2 separate regions of the Homo sapiens genome follow, and region 1 is linked to region 2. Evidence: promoter capture Hi-C in 16 types of primary human blood cells and fetal thymus (Javierre and others, 2016). All regions are on one chromosome and are shown on one strand. The core of a region is centred on a gene start or on the middle of the fragment in contact, and the rest is flanking DNA. Distances in the headings are between cores, read along the strand shown. Region 1 holds the start of STMP1 (short transmembrane mitochondrial protein 1). Region 2 holds the start of IFT56 (intraflagellar transport 56).

What was found. Contacts are between HindIII fragments. The CHiCAGO score rates a contact against its expected background, and 5 or more counts as called.
Region 1: the fragment with the promoter of STMP1 here is called in contact with the fragment with the promoter of IFT56 in region 2 in 1 of 17 cell types (total B cells); the score reaches 6.9 in total B cells.

The regions. Positions count from the first base shown.
Region 1 is chr7:135,661,161-135,663,938 of GRCh38, forward strand. It overlaps STMP1 (short transmembrane mitochondrial protein 1), which reads left to right and starts at 1,354. Exons shown (of 3, transcript NM_001130929.2): 1 at 1,354-1,434. The coding sequence starts at 1,420. RefSeq lists a silencer at 1,229-1,448 and enhancers at 2,088-2,612, 2,613-2,778. The HindIII fragment of the contact is 1,162 bases long and covers 579-1,740 here.
Region 2 is chr7:139,132,286-139,135,355 of GRCh38, forward strand. IFT56 (intraflagellar transport 56) reads left to right here and starts at 1,493. Exons shown (of 18, transcript NM_024926.4): 1 at 1,493-1,575; 2 at 2,370-2,507. The coding sequence starts at 1,573. RefSeq lists enhancers at 1,318-1,612, 1,330-1,509. The HindIII fragment of the contact is 9,761 bases long and covers 1,148-3,070 here.

The DNA.
Region 1 (2,778 bases), core at 104-2,603, 3.5 Mb before region 2:
TCTTATTAGGGAGTTATATATCTTATTAGGGAGTTAGTGTTTAAAACATACTGTGTGGTATAATAGGCTTAAAATAAATTCTTTAAAAGAGAAAGAGAGAAAAAAACACACACATACACAGACCGGAAGACTGACAGAACAGACTCTTTGTGGCGATGATACAAATTGTCAACAGGACCTATGGCCATCCCAGGCAAGAAACCCAGCTAGGCCAGTGAAACTGAGAGCCAACCTGATGAGGCCTGCCAAATGCAACTTCTCTCACTTGTTTTTAGTCACCTGCTTTTAGTGGATTAAAAAACCCACATAGCTAAAGTCACAGAGCTAAACAATATATATCTAAGCTCCCACTATCTTCCTTATGGATAACATCTCTGACATCTGGGTTGCTTGATAAAGGTTTCTTGTTTTTCAGGAAGTTGGGGTCAGTTCTTGTACAGTTTAAACCACCAACCTCTCAACTGGGCCTGCATGAAAGCCCGATGGGTGTCCTTCTGACATTAGAGGGCCAAAACCTCCACACTCAGATCATGCTAAGGATGTCATTTTGTGACCATGTATCCTATAAAGAGCCATGAAGCTTGACTACCTCGCGCAGATAACCCATTGCCAAACTTTTCCTTACCTTCAACCGCCTTTCCCCACACCTCAGACCACCCTGCTCCTCTATCCCATAAATATCCCTAAAACCCATCTTTGGGGAGGCAGATTTGAGATCTGTTCTCCCGTCTCCTCGGCTGGCTGCCTGGTGAATAAACCTTTTCTCTGCTACAAAACTCATCATCTCAGTGACTGGCGTGCGGCACACGGCAGCATGGGCCCCATACGGTACCCAGCCTCTACCTTGATTACACAACACCTGATTACACAACGCTGATTACACAGCACACCTGCGGAGCTTTGAGAGCTACAAGCCTCCTTTCCTCCCCGCAAAGTCCAGCTGGGCCCAAGTAGAGGATGCTGCAAAAGCCCCCACGATTCAGCTGCGAACCTAGGGATGGGACCCGCTGCTCATGCCGTCCTTCTAGGTTAGAGAGCCCTAAACTGGGCTGTGTATCAGAATAGTCCGCGTGCTGAGAATAATATAGATTCCTGGGCCTCGGCCCAGGTTTACAGAGGCGGGATGCTCAAGGATGCCCAGCCAGGCTCGGGACTTGCTCTTCGCAAGTCCTGTCGCGCGCTCGCTGCCCCGCCGGTTCAGGCGGTGAGGCCAACGCGCTCCGCCAGGGGGAACCTGGGCGCTGCGACACTGCAAGTCGTTTCCGGGCGCGGGCTGAGTGGGAGGAGCGGGGCGGGGCGTGGCGTGACCCGGAAGTCGACGAGGGGTTCCGCCCCCCCCGCGCATGGGGAGGTAGGCTCGGACCGGCCCGCGGAGCTGCTGCAGTCCTTCGCGCCCTCCTCGCCCTCCCCACCGACATCATGCTCCAGTTCCTGGTGAGTGGAGCTGCCGAAGAGCGGGGCCCGCTGCCTGGGGCGTGCCTCGGACCCCATTTCCCCCTTGAGGATTGCCGACCCCGCCGACCCGGCCTGGGCGTGGGTCCAGCGGTCCCTTCGTCCCCCGCGCCTGGTCGTCGCCTCGCAGGGCGGCCGTTTTCTTCCTGCCTCCCCAGAAAATCCCTTTGCCAATATTTTTCTGCAGCCATCCAAGTCCCTAAAACTTTGAGGTGTCAGAGAGTGTGCGTTTCCAGAGCTTCTTATTGTGTGCCGCGCCCCGCGCTCATTGTGCAATCTTTGTATTAAAGCTTGTGTGGTCCTTGATGACTTTTCGTAGTCCGCCCCCCTTTCTTTCTGCGCTCCTGTTCCATTACATGGTCGCCGGCCGGTCCCTGCTGTGGAGCCCTGCTAGTTGGCTTTTCTGAGGAGGTAGGAAGGCCAGGAATAAACCGTAAATTAGCCACCTCACGAAGTCCGAGAGGCTAAGTCCTCATCAGACCTTTCAGAGTTGGAGGAATGAGTCAGACACTGGTATACAAGTAATTTTTCCCAAAATGTGTAAGCATGAGTAAGCAGACTATTTCTCTTGGCTCCTTATTTGAGTTAAAAACGAGTTTTCTGGCAAAACTCGGTATATTTCAAAAATTGCTTGGTGAAGGTTCCAGGAGTTGCTCATCAAATTTTCAAGTGAAAGTTTTTCTGCCAAGCTATTGTGCATTCAAAACTTGATGCTTTCAACCTCTATTTTTTTTTATTTTTTATTTTTTTTGAGACGGAGTCTCGCTGTGTCGTCAGGCTGGAGTGCAGTGGCGCAATCTGGGCTCACTGGAACCTCCGCCTCCCGGGTTCAACCGATTCTCCCTCCTCGGCCTCCGGAGTAGCTGGGATTACAGGCGCGCACCAGGATGCTCAGCTAATTTTTGTATTTTTAGTAGAGACGGGTTTCACCAAGTTGGCCAGGCTGGTCTCGAACTCCTGACCTCAAGTGATCAACCCACCTCAGCCTACGAAAGTGCTGGGATTACAGGCGTGAGCCACTGCTCCCGGCTCAAATGCTGTATCTTTTTTTGTTGTTTGTTTTAACGGAGTCCCGCTCTGTCGCCAGGCTGGAGTGCAGTAGTGCGATCTCGGCTCACTGCAGCCTCCGCTTCCTGGGTTTAAGCGATTCTCCTGCCTCAGCCTCCCGAGTAGCTGGTGCGCGCCAGCAGGCCCAGTTAATTTTTGTATTTTTAGTAGAGACGGGGTTTCACCCCGTTGGCCGGGATGGTCTCGATCTCCTGACCTCGGGATCTGCCTGCCTCAGCCTCCCAAAGTGCTGGGATTACAGGCGTGAGCCTCCGCGCC
Region 2 (3,070 bases), core at 243-2,742:
AAGCTGTTATGTATTTTAGGAATTATCATAGTTTGTGTTTTGTCTTGCCTTTGTCTGCAGAGCTGTTATGGTATTTATCTGCAATTGGGTCAACACACAGCTGAGAAAATGTGTAGAACAAAGACTACTCAGAGAATTGTTTGATTGAAGAGGCAGCCGTGTAGCCTGAATCAGGTTCCAGAACTACTTTCTCTTGTTGCTTTATAATTCGGACTTGGTCCTTTCCAATTTCCCCTCCTCCCTGGGATGTGACTGCCAGGAAGGGGCCTTCCTAGTGACATGAGGTTTGATCAAATACACGGCCTGAGAATATAATTCTTCTATAATGCTTTCTCTGAAAGCTTTTGAAGAAAAGGGGAAAATGTGAAAAGAAAATTTCAGCACTTTCCAAACGTACTATGCCAAGGGGAAAAGTTAAGCCCTGTAAACTAAATCACAGAACATGGCTGTTTTTCTTCTCTGGTGCATGACTGTTGCTTCCTGATCTTTGTGTTGATGTTATATATTAACCAGATTTTTTATTCTTTATTCAGACTAAATGACGTTGGAGATAGAGACCCTTGTGATTGTTACCTCTTTACAATAGAATATTAAACAACCCCCTTACAGTGTAATCAATAGTAGTGAATTGAATCTTCTGTGTACGTTAGCCTCATCTAGAAAATGCTGTAATTACGTACAGCACTCCTGTTTTTGGTGATATAAATGACCCTCACCTTTCCCTGCATCAGGGAGCACTGATCACCATTCTTTGCTGTCAGTGGTTCCCGGGATAGCCGCCCTCACACTTTGCACTTGAATAAACTCTTTCAACTGGATCCCTGAGCTTTTTGGTTATTTTAGGCTGACATTAGTTAACTAACAAGATGTTAGTTCTTCAGTCTGTTAATTCTGAGGGGTTGACCAGAGGTCCTGTAAGGTCCCTTCCAACTCTAACATTCCACGATTTCGTGAATTTAAAGACTGTGGTTGCCCCTGTATTAACTGGGTTCAGGAGTAAGATAGATAAATTAAGTCATCCAATCGACAAATATTTATTACAGTTCTCTATTGTGTGTAGGTGTATCTGTGGAAATAGGAAACTGTATTTTGGTGCACTCCTGCTTCCAAATCACAGAACTACAACTCCTTCAGCAGAAATTTTCTAAGCTTCCCGCACCAGCCAGAGACCAAGATTCTGCGGTGCACATAGTCAAGGGTTGCTATGGAGTCCAACACGGCCCCAAACAGAAGTGGTCCCTGAAAATTTCTTTCCCAGAAAACTTGCATTTGAAAAACAATGCCATTCCAATTCGCCTTTTCCTAAAGTAAACTCATAAATAGAGACAACCAAACTTTCGCTCTCAGCCCAGAGAACGACGCTCTCCTCCCAAGAGGAACCTCGGCTCTTCCGCGGCAGAAGCTGCACGGAACCAAGAAGCCGCGGGCGCTGGTTCTCCAACGAGCTTTTCTCCCGTTCGTACCAGCGTCCAGGCGGGGTTACCGTGGAGACAGAACGTGCTGTGTGGATGCGGCGAAACGCTGAGGCGCGGCCTTCGCTGTGTGGTGGGGACTCACAAGACCGACGTCAAGATGGTTAGTGGCTCTGAATAGTAAGGGAGTACTTTGAGTAGGTCCTGAGGCTGGCGATTAGAGGTTCCCAGCACACTTCTGTGTGAAGTCTAGGTGTGTCCGCAGAGAGTAATCCCCAGCTCTCCCTGTGTTCCCACGGGGGACAGGGATGCAACTGTAAATACCTCGGTGCTTTCTTCCCTCCTGCTTTTCCGTTTACTCACATTTAAACCACTCGTGGGATGGGAAGCAGAGGAAGGGAAAGCTGAGATGACAGAAGCAATGCGAAAGCATCTCTAGCCAGAGAAGATAAAAGTTGGGAGTAGCTGTTTGGTCCTTCCTAAGTATTGGCTGATGGCTCTTCTAGTAGAATACCTGTTACAAAACGAGTTTGAATAGGCTTCCCTGGGGTTCGTTGTTAAGGATTTGACTTATAATTTTTTTTTTTTTTTTGAGATGGAGGCTCGCTTTGTCGCCCAGGTTGGAGTGCAGTGGCGCGATCTTGGCTCACTGCAACCTCTGCCTCTAGGTTCAAGCGTTTCTTCTGCCTCAGCCTCCCGAGTAGCTGGGACTACAGGCGCATGCCACCACGCCCGGCTAATTTTTGTATTTTTAGTAGAGATGCGGTGTCACCATATTGACCAGGCTGGTCTCCAACTCCTGACCTCGTGATCCGCCGCCTTCGCCTCTCAAAGTGCTGGGATTACAGGCATGAGCCACTGTGCCCGGCCTTGACTTATAAATTACAGAGCTGTCACTCTCAGTTTAAATCTGATAATCAGAATTGGACCATACAGCTGTCTTTGTTTCTTTTACAGATGCTTTCAAGGGCCAAACCTGCTGTAGGCAGAGGCGTACAGCACACTGACAAAAGAAAGAAGAAAGGTAGGAAGATTCCAAAACTAGAGGAGCTACTTTCAAAAAGAGATTTCACTGGAGCTATTACCCTGTTGGAGGTAATGCCCAAAGAACGTTGCTTCTTAGTGTATGAATACCAGACTGTAGATGAATGCTTGGGTGAATGCTGTTTGCTATGCTCTTGAAATAGGTGGGTGCATTCTGGGGCTTCCTGTACAAATCCCCTGTAAATCTAGTCAGGCACAGATTCCAGATTCCAAGTTAGCTATAAACCTGATAAAAAACGAACTAAAAAACTAAACTTGGCCGGGCGCGGTGGCTCATGCCTGTAATTCCAGCACTTCGGGAGGCCGAGACGGGCAGATCACAAGGTCAAGAGATCGAGACCATCCTGGCCAACATGGTGAAACCCCGTCTCTATTGAAAATACAAAAATTAGCTGGGCATGGTGGCACGTGTCTGTAGTCCCAGCTACTCGGGAGGCTGAGGCTGGAGAATCGCTTGAACCCGGGAGGCGGAGGTTGCAGTGAGCCAAGATCATGCCACTGCACTCCAGCCTGGCTACAAGGCGAGACTCCGTCTCAAAAAAAAAAAAAAAAAAAAACAAAACAAAACTTATTTCTTGAGGGCCACTTTTGAGTATGTCTAGTTCACCAACAGT